3 separate regions of the Homo sapiens genome follow, and all the other regions are linked to region 2. Evidence: promoter capture Hi-C in 16 types of primary human blood cells and fetal thymus (Javierre and others, 2016). All regions are on one chromosome and are shown on one strand. The core of a region is centred on a gene start or on the middle of the fragment in contact, and the rest is flanking DNA. Distances in the headings are between cores, read along the strand shown. Region 1 overlaps EPG5 (ectopic P-granules 5 autophagy tethering factor). Region 2 holds the start of SLC14A2 (solute carrier family 14 member 2). Region 3 overlaps PSTPIP2 (proline-serine-threonine phosphatase interacting protein 2).

Region 1 (2,700 bases), core at 1-2,500, 300 kb after region 2:
ATCAGCAACTGTCTTACTACAATACAAGATTCTGATAAGACAGAGATTTCAAGGATGAGTCCACCAGCAGCAATAGTCCAAGGCAGAGCATTACAGCCAAATGTAACAAGCGGGACTCTTCCTGGGCTGTCCTTTCCAACTTCCCTAGGGTCTACGCTAGTGGACTACGATTATCGGGATAAGGTACCATTAAGGCAAAGCTTAAAGAAGGTAATGGCCACAGAGTAGAACTGAAAACTGTACTTGGGGGAATCTTTTTAGAAAGCTACTTTATCTAGCCAATCACTGAAAGATAAATTCTCTAACAGGTTAATTACCTTATGTTGTTGGTAGAGTAATTTCTGTATGCAGTCTTCCTGCATCAGCTGAAAAGCTGCTTTACACAAGTGGTCCATGAGGAAGAGGATAGGTTGTTCTCGGTACCAGAGATGCTGGCTTATGAGAGCCTGAACCCAGAACTCCAACACAGCAACGGGGCCCACTTCATTGGGCTGAGTGCTTACAGATATGTGTGCCTGTGGAGAAAAGGCTCATGTGATGGGAAAGATAACAACCAGCCTCTCATTTTTTAAATAGCAACAAAATGCTATCTACCTCCACTACAAATCCCAAATCTATTGCCTTTCTTGGCCAAAAGCACACTAAGCCAAGTGATCTGAAATGACTAAAACCTAAGTGTGCTAACGCTAGAGGTCTTGGTTGGGAAGACAGGCGGGAGTGTGCTTAGGGGCTTGCAAGGCCCTCACCTGGATCATGCTGTTGAGAAGCTTCACGTTGTCCCCATGGCTGGCTCCTGTCAGGTGCTGTGCCACCTTGTGGGTGACCTGTTGTGTGACACCCTGAGGGACACCGCTGTCCAAGTGTAGGAACAAGAGGAGATGCGATAAAAACCTGCCAAGCACACAGGAGGACGCACTTTACCTTCCGATCAGAACTCAACAGAATTTTCCCTAATTACTTATGAGGAAACAGAAAATTCCTAAATTGGTCCCATTTTTCGACCAAAGCACTATTTAAGAAGGGATTCTAGAAGAATAAAGTTTTCACATTTAACATGGGTTAAAAGGAATTCTATCTACCCACAGAGGTATTAAGAACAGATCCACGACACACAAACACATGCAAGTTAAACAGCATTAGAGGAAAAACACCCAAAGGCACCACTCTCCCCTCCTCACTCCCCAACTCCATGAATAAAGGCAGAGATGTTTCCAAACCATTCAGTTTCCAAACTTGCCTCATACCCAGGGTGCTGATTCTTAAAAAGGGGTTGAAGGGTTAGGTGAGTAGTTCCCAGGACCTAACCCATTTCTACTAAAGTAACATCTCCGGGGGAGAAACCTGGGAATCCATATTTAATAAGCTCTTTTGGGCAAATTGGAGACATACTGCTTGAAAAGACACATAACAGGAAAACTGTAATGCTCCCCTTGTGCCTTTGGATGTACTTCATGTCCCCACTGTACAGGGTTCCTCCATATGGGGTGAGGCCTCACCTCCCCTTTCATCACTGTTCATGAGGCCCCAGCCAGATGCTTTACTCTTGCCTCCCTAGACAGGTTGTTCTCTTCCCACCTTCCTAGCATCTTATCTGTTTGCAACACTGCACTATGTGCACTGTAAACAATTTAAAACAATCTTTTCTATTGTTACAATGGCAAACCATTTGCTGCTTAATATCAGAAGCACGATTCCCAGAATCTCAGGGAAACAACTGCTCCTTCATATACTATTAAGCTTTAATAAGCAATTCAAAGTTATAATAAATGAAAAGGAAAAATATCTTTCATGGTAATAAAACTGGAGTCATTATTAGAATCACTGTTCATCAACCTGCATTCTAAACTGGGGTGCAGAATATTTTTGCCCCATAATACGCTGTTGAAATAGCATTCCCTTTATTTTACTTAAGAAACCAGAAGACACAATCATTTGTACTTGCTGGACTGTTTAAGAGTGTCTCCTGCCATAGATGGAACACACTTACTGCTCATTCTTCAGAAGGTAATACTGGCAAGGGTAAAATAAAGGCAGAATCTTATCCAGGACATGAACCACTGTTCTCAAATGTCTTGACTGGACCAGAATTCCCAATAGTGGGATGCCTTCTGCACAGAACTTCTCAATGCTATGGAAAAAGAGAAAGGCACTGAATACACAAGGGAGCTGGTTCATAAAATTCTGTTCTTCCAATGAGTTATGAGCCTTCAATACCTTGGGTTATCTCAGGTCTCCAACACATGTTTTATACCCAATCTTCACACAGAAATACTAAACCCAGAATTCTAGAATTGCAAAGAAACTTAAAAGTTAATCTTTATTTTCATTGTATGGATGAGGAAGGTGAAGTATCATGCCCAAATTCACATAATTTCCTAGAGTAAGGTCAAAATGAGAACGCCAGTTTGCAAATTTCTAATCCAGAGTGCTCTCTACTACCATATTTTATTTCTCAAAAAGAGCTTCTCCTAAGAGCCGTAGGGACTCTCCTTGTCTGGATATTCCCACAAGGTATCACAGCAAAGAGGAGACTCAAAAGTGACCTCAATCTGTCAGTACAGGTTGACTATCCCTTAACTGAAATGCTTGAGACCAAGTATTTTAGATTTTGGAACACTCGTATCATACTTAAAAGCTGAGCATCCCTAATCCAAAAGTCCCAAATCCAAAATGCCCCAATGAACATTTCCTTTGAGTGCA
Region 2 (2,915 bases), core at 217-2,716:
TGCAGCAACCCTACCATCCTGGGCCCAGAGGCCTAGGAGGAAAAACAATGGGCTGGTCCAGGGCCCCACTACTGCCCTATGCAGCCTCGGGACTTGGTACCCTGCATCCCAGCCATGGCTAAAAGGGGCCAGTGTACAGTTCAGGCCATTGCTTCAGAGGGTGCAAGCCTCAACCCATGGCGGCTTCCATGTGGTGTTGAGCCTGCAGGTGCACAGAAGTCAAGAATTGAGGTTTGGGAACCTCCACTTAGATTTCAGAGGATGTATGAAACGCCAGGATGTCCAGGCAAAAGTTTGCTGCAGGGGTAGAGACCTCATAGAGAACCTCTGCTAGGGCAGTGCAGAAGGGAAATGTGAAGTTGGAGCCCCCACACAGAGTCCCCACTGGAGGACTGCCTAGTGGAGCTGTGAGAAGAGGACCACCGTACTCCAGACCCCAGAATGGTAAATCCACTGTCAGCTTGCACTCTGCACCTGGAAGAGCCACAGACACTCAACACCAGCCTGCGAAAGCAGCAGGAGGAGAGCTATACCCTGCAAAGCCACAGAAGCAGAGCTGCCTGAGTCTGTGGGAGCCCACCTCTTGCATCAGCATGACCTGGATATGAGACATGGAGTCAAAGGAGATTATTTTTGAGATTTAAGATTTAATGACTGCACCACTGGATTTTGGACTTGCGTGGGGCCTGTAGCCCTTTGTTTTGGCCAATTTCTCCCATTTGAAATGGGAGCATTTATCCAATGCCTCCTGCACCCCCACTGTATCTTGGAAGTAACTAACTTGCTTTTTTTTTTTTTTTTTTTTTTGAGACACAGTTTGCTCTGTCACCCAGGCTGGAGTACATTGGCACTATCTTGGCTCACTGCAACCTCCACCTCCCAGGTTCAAGAGATTCTTCTGTCTCAGCCTCCCAGTAGCTAGGACTACAAGTGTGTGCCACCACACCCTGCTAATTTTTGTATTTTTAGTAGAGACAGGGTTTCACCACATTGGCCAGGCTGGTCTCGAACTTCTGACGTCAAGTGATCCACCCGACTCGGCCTCTCAAAGTGCTGGGATTACAGGCGTGGGCCGCCGCACCCGGCCATTTGCTTTTGATTTTACTGGCTCATAGGTGGAAGGGACTTGCCTTGCCTCAGATGAAACTTTGGACTTTGACTTTCAAGTTAATACTGGAATAAGTTAAGACTTTGGGGGACTGTTGCTAAGGCACAATTTTGTTTTGAAATGTATAAAGAACATAATATCTGGGAGGGGCCAGGGGCAGAATGATATGGTTTGGCTCTGTGTCCACACCTGAATATCATCTCAAATTGTAATCCCAGTAATCCCCATATGTTGAGGGCAGGACCCAGGGCAAGGTGACTGGATCATGGGAGCGGTTTCCCCCATGCTGTTCTCGTGATAGTGAGTGAATTCTCACAAGATCTGATGGTTTTATAAGTGTTTGGCAAGTTCCTGCTCCACACCATCTCTCTCTTCTGCCGCCATTTGAGAAGGTCCAAGTTTGCTTCCCCTTCGCCTTCCACCATGACTGTAAGTTTCCTGAGGCCTCCCCAGCAATGTGGAAGTGTGAGTCAATTAAATTTCTTTTTTTTTTTTTTCTAATAAATCACCCACTCTCAGGTAGTTCTTTATAGCAGTATGAGAATGGACTATTGCAGTGGGGGAGCCAGGATTTGAATCCAGGTATTCTGTCTCCACTGTGCCACCACTGTCTAATAACACTAAAATTAACTACCTAGAGCCACCTCGGGGCAGCTTGTGTATATAAGTATGTGTGCATGTGTGTATGTGTAGGGGTGTATGTGTGTGTGTGTGTGTGTGAGAGAGAGAGAGAGAGAGAGAGGGAGAGAGAGAGACTACTACATTGTGAAATAGTCCACCACACAAGCCAGAGCAGAGGTCACCATGCTCCTAAGAGGCCAGGAAGGCACCATGGCCATGTTAGGGGTGGGTGTGTGAGCAGGATGTGTGTGAGTAAAGGAGATCAATATTCGTGCATGTGGAACTGAATTGGAGGTAGCTGTGGGACCTCAGGAGGCCACCTGCCCAGAACAGTGGCACACACTGCAGAGAAGCTGAAAATTGTCTTGGGCACAAGTGGAGCACCCCTGGGTAGAACCGAGGGAGATTGAGAACAGTTGCTATCTTCAGAGCTTTTTAACTTCTCCCCCTAAGTAGCCTCAACTGATGGGAGAATTGACACATTACCCCTACGTAATAGGTGGGCACAGCCTGAAGCAGCCACCTGCAGACTCTACATTTCTTCCCTTTATATTTTATTTTAATAATATAAAGAGTTGCATTTGACTATTTTATAAACCATGTTTGCTTAAATATACAACTATTATTCTATATTAGTTCATATCAAGCTCAATCAGCATTCCAGAAAACTGTGCTTCTCAGTGCCCTGGGCATTGACTACTCTGGCTCAGAGTTTCATGCCCAGTTTCAGGAGCGAAGCACTCAGACATGGAGCACCTCAGAAGGTTTTTGAGCAGTGGCACGACCAAGTCATGTTTTAAGATAATTTACCCATCACCAGTGGCAAGGTGGAGAAAAACTGGGGAGACTGAAGTGAGGGAAATCAGCTAGAAGGTGACCTGCGTTGGGGAGGGCCTGGCTTAAAGGGAGATAATGGGCTGATCCAGACTGAGGGCTCTGAAGGAGAACTCGATGGCTGAATAATTGCAACTGATGGAATGCAAGAGGCAATAAATAAATTGCCATTTATTCATGGGATGAGAGGGCTCAATATGTGGAACATTGAAGGGTCACCCCACTTTAGAAGTGTCACATAAGGACCGGGTGCAGTGGCTCACACCTGTAATCCTAGCACTTTGAAAGACCAAGGTGGGCGGATTGCCTGAGCTCAGGAGTCTGAGACCAGTCTGGGCAACATGATGAAACC
Region 3 (2,700 bases), core at 4-2,503, 370 kb after region 2:
TCTGGCCTCTTCCTCTTCTTAGGAGAACACCAGTCACTAGGATTAGGGCCCCACCTCAACGGCCTCCCTTCAATTTAATCACCTCTTTAAAGGCTCTGTCTCCAAACATGGCCACATTCTGAAGTACTGGCTGGCAGCTGGGACTTCAACATATGAATTGTGTGTGAGGGTGGGGTGCATGATTCATCCATAATAGTAGGGGGAGGAAGGAGATGATGAATATCAATTATGGATTTAAGATTATCTGTAAGAACAGGAAATATAGCTGGTCCTGCTAACTGTTTCCTTTGTATGTGTGTGTGTCTGTTTTTGGAAGTTGGGACTTGAAGAAGTAGTGATAGGATGGAGTAAAAAGTGGGGTATGGATGCATCTGAACCATGTGGGGTCAGATGCTGTCAATGCCCCATCCACATCCCTTCAGTACCTCTCAATTCCTTAAACACACAGTTCCAACTGTCAGGAACTGTGTTCCTGCCTAAGGACCCTCTCAGACTGTTCCCACTCTCCAGCGTTGGAGGCAGCCCAGAAGTGCTGGGAAATTAATGCCTCCTAGGAGCATTCTGCAACCAGTGACTGACAGGAGTTGGTGAATAAATACTCCAGCTCCCTTGTGGCTTAGGTGCAATATCTCCTAAGTGTGTGTGTGTTCTTTTTTTTTTTTTTTTTTTCTTGAGACAGAGTCTCACTCTGTTGCCCATGCTGGAGTGCAGTGGCGCGCGATCTTGGCTTACTGCAACCTCCACCTCCCGGGTTCAAGCAATTCTTCTGCCTCAGCCTCCTGAGTAGCTGGGATTACAGGCACGCGCACCATGCCCAGCTAATTTTTTAATTTTTAATAGAGACAGGATTTCACCATGTTGGCCAAGCTTGTCTCGAACTCCTGACCTCAGGTGATCCACCTGCCTCGGCCTCCCAAAGTGCTGGGATTACACCGCACCCAGCCCCAGTTGTGTGTTCTGCACTGTTTCCTGGGAGTCTTCAACAAGAGTAAGCTCCAGCTGCCTGCCATGTAGCTTACTTGATAATGCACACTGTTTTTGCCTTTCTTCCTTTCCCTATCTGGCTTCCCCACTTCCATACTGGCACTTTCTGGAAAAAGTACTTGTACACAAATCCTTATCTCGGGGTCTGCTTCTGATGGAACCCAAATTAATATACCAACAGTCTGTAGAATAGCTCACATTTACTAAATTTAACACATGTACTCGTTTGGCTTCACTCACTTTGCACTCCTTATTTCTCTTTCAAGTGGTTGTTTCTCTAGCTATGTTTTCTTATGGGCCACTAATTCTTTCATAGTCTCTACTATGTGCCAGGTGCTGGAGATACAGCAGGAAAAAGAATAGACAATGGCCCTGCTACCATTGGGGTTCCAGTCTAAAAAGGAAGACAGGCTTTGAACAATTAATTTCAAGGGTGAATCATATCATAACAAGGAAAATGGAGGGGGAGGAGAGATACAGTAGTTGGATCCAACCTAGTCTGAAGGCAGAGATGGTGTCTCGCAGAGGAAGTAACACTGCAATTGACCTCTGAAGGATTAGTACAAAGTAGTTCGGCACCATCTCCATTTGGCTTCCCTGACCAGCGGTTTGTCTTTTTGAAGCCTAACAATCACAAATGTGGCAAGGGATCAAATAAAGCTTGGAAGAGCGATATGGTCAACACAAAAATACGAAACAAATCCCAAATTACCAAGAACCTTTATTTAACCTACCAAACTAAAAGAGCAATAAAATAAAAATATTTTCCATCCACAAAACGGTTTTACATCAACTACACTGACCAATACAGAGAAAAGGGAAATCCCTGAGGAACTGCCAACAATAAATAATATACTTAAAATAGAATGTTCTGAGTGTAAAGGAACATTTCCTGAGCCCGTTCAGTTTGGGGAAATTTGGCCCTTTGCAAAATTCAGTTTCTCAAAAGGATATCCAACTGATGCAAGTTTCCTGTCATGACAAGAAGCTGTCATGTTCAGTAGCACCTTACACGAAAGGTGGGGAAATAGGCCGGGCGCAGTGGCTCACGCCTGTAATCCCAGCACTTTGGGAGGCCGAGGCAGGTGGATCACCTGAGGTCAGGAGTTTGAGACCAGCCTGACCAACATGGTAAAACCCTGTCTTTACTAAAAATACAAAAAATTAGCCAGGTGTGGTGGTGGGTGCCTGTAATCCCAGCTACTCAGGAGGCTGAGGCAGGAGAATCACTTGAACCCGGGAGGCAGAGGTTGCAGTGAGCTGAGATCATGCCGCTGCACTTCAGCCTGGGGGACAGAGAGAGACTCTGTCTCAAAAAAAAGAAAAAAAGATGAGGAAATAATCAATCTTCTTCTGATCAATTTGTCCATAGTTCTGGAAAAGCTACTGCACAGAGCAGGAGAGGAAACTATTTGCTCTCTGTAATACTGAAAAACTGAGAGTGCTATTTTAACTTGTCAATAACTAAAAGGTACCATTTTCTCATAGTGCACAGGTGTTGTACAAAAAGTACATGACCTCCCTGCTGTTTGTGAGTGAAAAAGGAAAACCCAAATATTTGTGAAAGTGTAAGACGGATGCATTTAAAATTCTGGGGTCTAGCAAGGGAAAGATTCTCTGTGAAGACCCAAAATTGAGGACTGGTTTTATAACTCTAAAATTATCTTGAGGAATGGAATCAAAATATGGTATTTCATTGATTCTAAGATGTATTTT

Evidence for each region. Contacts are between HindIII fragments. The CHiCAGO score rates a contact against its expected background, and 5 or more counts as called.
Region 1: a fragment that was not itself captured here is called in contact with the fragment with the promoter of SLC14A2 in region 2 in 1 of 17 cell types (naive CD8 T cells); the score reaches 6.0 in naive CD8 T cells.
Region 3: a fragment that was not itself captured here is called in contact with the fragment with the promoter of SLC14A2 in region 2 in 1 of 17 cell types (naive CD4 T cells); the score reaches 5.9 in naive CD4 T cells.

What each region holds. Positions count from the first base shown.
Region 1 is chr18:45,915,692-45,918,391 of GRCh38, forward strand. It overlaps EPG5 (ectopic P-granules 5 autophagy tethering factor), which reads right to left. Exons shown (of 44, transcript NM_020964.3): 17 at 1,988-2,128; 18 at 747-891; 19 at 318-515. Among named protein-coding and RNA genes, the nearest start is that of EPG5, 50 kb to the right of the region's middle. The HindIII fragment of the contact is 970 bases long and covers 766-1,735 here.
Region 2 is chr18:45,614,010-45,616,924 of GRCh38, forward strand. It overlaps SLC14A2 (solute carrier family 14 member 2), which reads left to right and starts at 1,467. Exons shown (of 20, transcript NM_007163.4): 1 at 1,467-1,573. The region is part of intron 8 of LOC105372093 (a long non-coding RNA gene); the gene reads right to left. The HindIII fragment of the contact is 14,354 bases long and covers 1-2,915 here.
Region 3 is chr18:45,981,851-45,984,550 of GRCh38, forward strand. It overlaps PSTPIP2 (proline-serine-threonine phosphatase interacting protein 2), which reads right to left. Exons shown (of 15, transcript NM_024430.4): 15 at 1,686-2,700. Among named protein-coding and RNA genes, the nearest start is that of EPG5, 16 kb to the left of the region's middle. The HindIII fragment of the contact is 777 bases long and covers 866-1,642 here.